Linked DNA regions of Homo sapiens: region 2 is linked to region 1. Evidence: promoter capture Hi-C in 16 types of primary human blood cells and fetal thymus (Javierre and others, 2016). All regions are on one chromosome and are shown on one strand. Each heading gives the region's core, a stretch centred on a gene start or on the middle of the fragment in contact. The rest is flanking DNA. Distances are from core to core; before and after follow the strand shown.

Region 1 (3,037 bases), core at 98-2,597:
TAACGTATAGATACTACTATAAATTCATTTTACAGAGGAACAAAAACCAAAGCTTAAAAGAAAAAAGAAAAAGAAAAACCAAGGCTTTAAGTTAAATGAATTAGAATACTATAAGATTCACTTGAATCATGAGTAACTTATGACCAACTTAATCCCTTTCAAGTCCTCTGAATGTTTTTGGAAATAGCCTTTAAAAAAATTAAAAGCTCCAAAGACTATACAAAAATTATTTATACATTACTGCCCACGGCCTAATACACAGAGTACTTCACACTAATACAGCAGTAGGGTGCAACAGAGGTCCAATCTCTTCCCTTCTCTTGGCTCCACTCTGCCCAGTATCAAAATGGCATTTCCATGGCAATACAAATCCATATTACATAACCTCCGAAAAATCTTCATAGTCCTACGTCTATTCCGGAAAACCGTATTTAAAAGCAGGATTGACGACCAAAGAAAAATGAGAAAGTAACATTTTAATGTGGAGCTTAGTAATCGCCTAGAATGAATGGCGATATACAGTTTACTGCACCCTCCAATGCGCAAAAGAGGCAGGATGGCAAAATTCATGACTATCTTAAGCAAGCCAGGAGACTGCTAAAAAGGTAGGTATTAGCTCAATTCCAAGGGGGTGGGGCCCAGTTCACTTGGTGGCGGGCTCTAGATGGCCAAAGAGGAAGGGAAAGATATCCGTTGGTGGCCAGCACCTCGCTAAAAAGGGTGGGTAGAGGCTAACTTCAAGGCAACGGCTGGGGCGAGAGTGTCCCAGGCCCGAAAACCTACTGTGGGGCTCCGGTAAGTAAGGGGGCTCAGGGAAGGGCTCCCCTGGGGCAGATCGATCGTTTTGTATCTAACGTGGAGCCCAGGGGGGGCAGAGACGATTCACTCCGCGGCGGAACGTGGAAGGGAAAGGGAAAGTGGGCGACAATGCAAGACGGAAAGCTCAAGCCGTAGGTCTGGCCTCCACCAGCTACGGCTGGGCCCACAGCTTTTCCAGGCCTTAGAGAAGAGAAGAAACCAAGCCTCGTGCCGACCCCTCCCCCACCCCCGCCTCCGCGCTCCCCCTTACCTCTACCCCACCCTGGCGCTTTCGCAGCCACCCCGGCTTTTCCTCCTCCACCAGCTGAGGCACCCGGTCTCCCGGTTTCCACACGCGTTCAGAGACACAAACTCACCCGCCGCTGAGGAAACGGTACTGCCTTCGCGACCTTCTGGGATCCAGGTTACGAGTGCGCTCCACTGGTTCGAGATTTCTGCCCGTCGCTCGCCAGGGAGACTGAGTGCCCAAGCGCCTACTCGCACAGGCCGCAAATACAGCCGCGCTGCGCGGCGAGCTGATGGAGGTCTTCCTCTTGCCCGGCGTGCACTGCGGCCGGGGGCGGGGAGCGCGGAACCATAGAGAAGAACGTATATAGATCGTCTCCGCTGTTGGCTCTGACTCACCAAGCCGAGACGAATAACCATAGAGAAGCAGCGTCTAGCGGTTACTAGAAAGGCCCGAACTGTAAATTATGACCCACCATGTTTGATTGGAGCCGACTGAATCTTACGACTACGGGACGCCATCTTGAGGTCAAGGTTCCGGCTGGGCACGGCGCGAGGAGTGTTAGAGGCTTTCTCACTTTTCGTAGTTTTTCGGGGGGTGGAACCTTGCTTTGTGATTCCTTGAGGTTCGAGGAACTGATAACTGGGCGCGATCTGCAACCTTAGTGTTAAACCCCAAGTGCTGTTATAACAACTACTCGAGATCAACAAATAATTGGCAAAGGCTGTGGAGGTTTTTTGAAAAGCAAAAGCTTATGCGTAGTTGTAGGGCCAAAGAGGTGGCTAGAAGATGTTTGGAAAAACGTGAAAAGTCCTGTAATACTAGTTAACACAGCTTTCGTTCTGTAATCTAAACGTGCTAAAAGAACTTAGCTTAAGTTAATGGAAATGAATAAAATTAATCATAAATGATTACGTTATTCCAATTGTGGACCTTATAGGCAATATCTAGTTACACGCCTTTCTCAACTGCTTGCCTCTAGGAAGGCATAAAACGGATTCAGTATAAAGTTATTGCCTCCCTGAGTTCCTGGTGCTGTGTTAAGTGCTGGAAGTATGAAGGCAAATGGAAGTGAGATTTGTTCCTGTCCTGCAAGAACTGTGAGCCAGGTGAAATAGATGACAAACCATGACCAGCCTAATATAAAATTGAAACATACTACACACTTCCTGCCTGCCTCCCCTACTTAATTTTACTCTAAAGCACTCATAACCATCTATCATAACATACATTTTTCTTGCTGATTTTATGGTCCGTCACTACCCCCACTAGAATGTGAATGTAAGCAATGCATGGATTGCCTGTTTTGTGCAAGAACAGGTCCTGGTACATAGCAAGCGCTCAATAAATATTTGTTGAGTGACAGAAATGATTACCGGCCGGGCGCGGTGGCTCACGCCTGTAACCCCAGCACTTTGGGAGGCCGAGGCGGGTGGATCACCTGAGGTTAGGAGTTCGAGGCCACCCTGGCCAACATGGCAAAACCCCGTCTCTACTGAAAATACAAAAATAAACTAGGCGTGGTGGCAGGCGCCTGTAATCCCAGCTACTCGGGAGGCTGAGGCAGGAGAATCGCTTGAACCCTGGAGGCGGAGGTTGCAGTGAGCCGAGATGGCACCACTGCACTCCAGCCTGGGCAACAAAGTGAGACATTGTCTCAAAAAAAAAGAAAAGAAAAGAAAAGAAATGATTAACATATGATGAGTACCAATAGAACACAAAATTTAGTGGGAGCACAAATGAGAAAGTAGCACTAATTACTACCATCTGCAAAATTTACATCCTTCTATACTTCTGCTTGCTAGGTTTCCTTACCATTAACTAAAGTTAATAATACCTTTGGCCGTGCGTGATGACGAGTGCTTGTAGTCCCAGTTACTTGGGAGACGAAATTAACTTATGTATGTTTGTACTTTGTTCAGTAAAGTGCTATTCAAATTTATAGTTTTTATAGTGCTACTCTATAATGCTATTTATTGTTTGTAAATAAAA
Region 2 (2,817 bases), core at 224-2,723, 5.7 Mb after region 1:
TTACATGTATCTACTGTACGTAAGCAAGTATGCCATTCCATATTTTTTCTGATTGCAACTAAAAACATATTTGATTCCTCCTTTTGTGTATATTTTATACAATAGAAAAAGAAGGCTGAGCACAGTGGCTCACACCTGTAATCCCAGTACTTTGTGAGGCCAAGGCAGGAGAATCGCTTGAGCCCAGTTCAAGACTAGCCTGGGCAACACAGCAAGACCCCATCTCTACAAAGAAAGTTAGCTGGGCAGGGTGGCACATGCCTGTAGTTCCAGCTACTTGGGAGGACTGCTTGAGGAACACTTGAACACAGGAGTTCAAGGCTGCAGCGACCTATGATCATACCACTACACTGCAGCCTGGGTGACAGAGCAAGACCCCAATTCTTAAAAAAAAAAAAAAAAAGTACAAGATTAGACACTACTTTAGGTACTACTAGGACAGTGATGTGAAGACTTACCTAAGTTTAACAAATAGTCTCAAAGTAGTTTAATAATTTTGGGCGGGGCTATAGCTAAGTCATAGCAAAACATTTAAAACAATCCATGTGCTAAGTAGCAGTCACTACCTAAGGCATAAGACATCCTCAAAATCTATGTATCATCTAAGGCTATAATAAAAAAAATTAAAATGTCAGTATGTATAAAATTAATCACTTGCAGAAGTGAGAAAGTATCAGTAAACCAGACGGCTGAGGAGATTCAGAAGGGTAAGTTGAATCAAGGTGACTGATATGAAGCCTTTCGGACATGATGGTAACTAATGACCTAAAACTAACACCTAACAAATTATAGTAAGATGGCTGAAACTAAAACCTACGTAATGGTATTGTACACCATGTTTAAAAAAAGAGTATTCACAAAGGTGATGATTTACATGGGGCCCAGAAAAGGCATCCAATAAGTAAAAAATGAATGCTCATCCAAAACTGTCTGAAAGATACCACGAGATCTGGTAGATGCAAACATTCTAATTACCAGCAAGATATACAATGTTGGATTTCAGGTGTGTATATACACGCATAGTATATTGCTTTTTCAAAGCTTATATAAAAGATCCCTAAAATCCATTTGCCCCATTTTCATGCTTACCCAGTGATCTCATTACTATTTTAGCTTTAAATCAAGAAAAAGGCATCCAACATATTCAGGCCTACCAATGTAAATGAACTAGTACTCTGACTTACCTGTCTCTAAGTTTGGTTACCATGAGTCAATTATCAAGATCCTGATAAACACTAGAAATAAAATTCAAGTTATCTGATCCATAAAATCCTAGGATGTACTAATTAAACTACTATTAAGAGATCTTGCTTAGATAGCTAATTGGCATCCTTTTCTAACAACTTTGTATGTAAAAGGTTTAAGTATAAAAGGAGCTTTTTTTTTTAAGCTGCAGCTTGCAATTTACAAAAAATGTATTTTTAAATAAACCATTTTAAATCTGAAATTTATATTACAGATATTTTTCTCACTTACCTTTTTCTTTGTCCACCCTAATGACAACCACACACTCATTCCTGCCAATTCGGATGAGTTTGTTGATAGAACGGATACGCCTTCTGGATAATTCACTAAGAAGAATCATGCCTTCAATGTTGTTGTATTCCAGCAAGCTGACATAAGCCCCCATTTCAGCAATGGATCTGACATTCACCATCACTACATCTTCCACCTCAGGAAATTTGTGTTGATAAAATCTACAACTTAGACCCGGCATTCTGCAATTTAAACAAAAGAATTAAGTAAGTATTCAGTTAAGGTGAAAATAAAAAAAAAATCAATTTCCACATCCTGCCACTGAAAGAAAAGATGAAGAAAAAAATAGTTATTAGTCTTAGTCTTCTCATCCTTTGAAACTTCTTAAGTGGTACCAGAAAACAGATAATGTTCAGGAACCAAGCTTTAATTTTTATTTTGCTCAACATTTTTGTAATGCTTGGGTGATTCTCTGCCTTTAGTTTCAGAGGAATCATAAAAAATAATGACCATCTATAAAGTACTCCAAGACCTAAGGATTAAAGGAATACCTCAAGAGTAAAATACTACTTTAAGGCATATCAAATGATGGGAAGCATCACTATTATAACTAATCAGAAAACTAAAGCTACTCTTTGCCGAAGTGAGCAAACATTGTATACGCTACCACTCACTATATAAAGGAAAAAATTTTCTACCTAAACCCTAACCAATATACCAAATGATACATTCTGTCATTTATTATAGCCAAAATTACAGTGTCACATGTCAAAACAACAAAAACTAAAAAAATTTTAATCACAAAATAAACTAAAATGCATCCTCCTCTCATAATTCTTTTTCCTTGAATTCACAATGTCTAGCTTCTCTTATCCCCAATACTCCCAAATATTCCTTTCTTTTATTGAATAGGTATACCTAATCTTGAGAATAGCTTTAATCTCCATTACTACAAAGTTCAAGTTTCTCTTAACCTCCAAGCATTAAAGATATTTACAATTATTCCCTTTGATCCACCCAACCTACTTTCAGCACTACTCCTTTTATGATCCACAAGCCTGAAATCATAGCCTGGGTAGAAGCATATTTAAAAAAGGAAGCTCTCAAACTAATCATGGCTGATGATTTTCATGTTTTTCTGTTAACCTTCACTGTTGTCACTGCTCAAAACGTAGGTAGTAACAGAACTTAAAGGCCTAAGAAAACCTTGTGAAAATTCATATAATAACTTATTAATTGGCACCTGCCTATATCTTCTCAGTGGCTTCCCACTGACTTATGTATCTTTCCACTACCTACAGAATCCTATATGATCTGGCCATTGCCTATCTCCTTGTGGTA

What was found. Contacts are between HindIII fragments. The CHiCAGO score rates a contact against its expected background, and 5 or more counts as called.
Region 2: a fragment that was not itself captured here is called in contact with the fragment with the promoter of RBM25 in region 1 in 1 of 17 cell types (total CD8 T cells); the score reaches 5.6 in total CD8 T cells.

Annotation. Positions count from the first base shown.
Region 1 is chr14:73,056,844-73,059,880 of GRCh38, reverse strand. It overlaps RBM25 (RNA binding motif protein 25), which reads right to left and starts at 1,347. Exons shown (of 19, transcript NM_021239.3): 1 at 1,176-1,347. RBM25-AS1 (RBM25 antisense RNA 1) reads left to right here and starts at 428. Exons shown (of 2, transcript NR_184256.1): 1 at 428-605; 2 at 1,124-3,037. RefSeq lists enhancers at 1,243-1,782, 835-2,034, 1,106-2,070. The HindIII fragment of the contact is 1,744 bases long and covers 55-1,798 here.
Region 2 is chr14:67,363,668-67,366,484 of GRCh38, reverse strand. EIF2S1 (eukaryotic translation initiation factor 2 subunit alpha) reads right to left here. Exons shown (of 8, transcript NM_004094.5): 2 at 1,477-1,718. The coding sequence starts at 1,717. It also overlaps a transcript of GPHN not described here. Among named protein-coding and RNA genes, the nearest start is that of EIF2S1, 4.7 kb to the right of the region's middle. The HindIII fragment of the contact is 859 bases long and covers 1,044-1,902 here.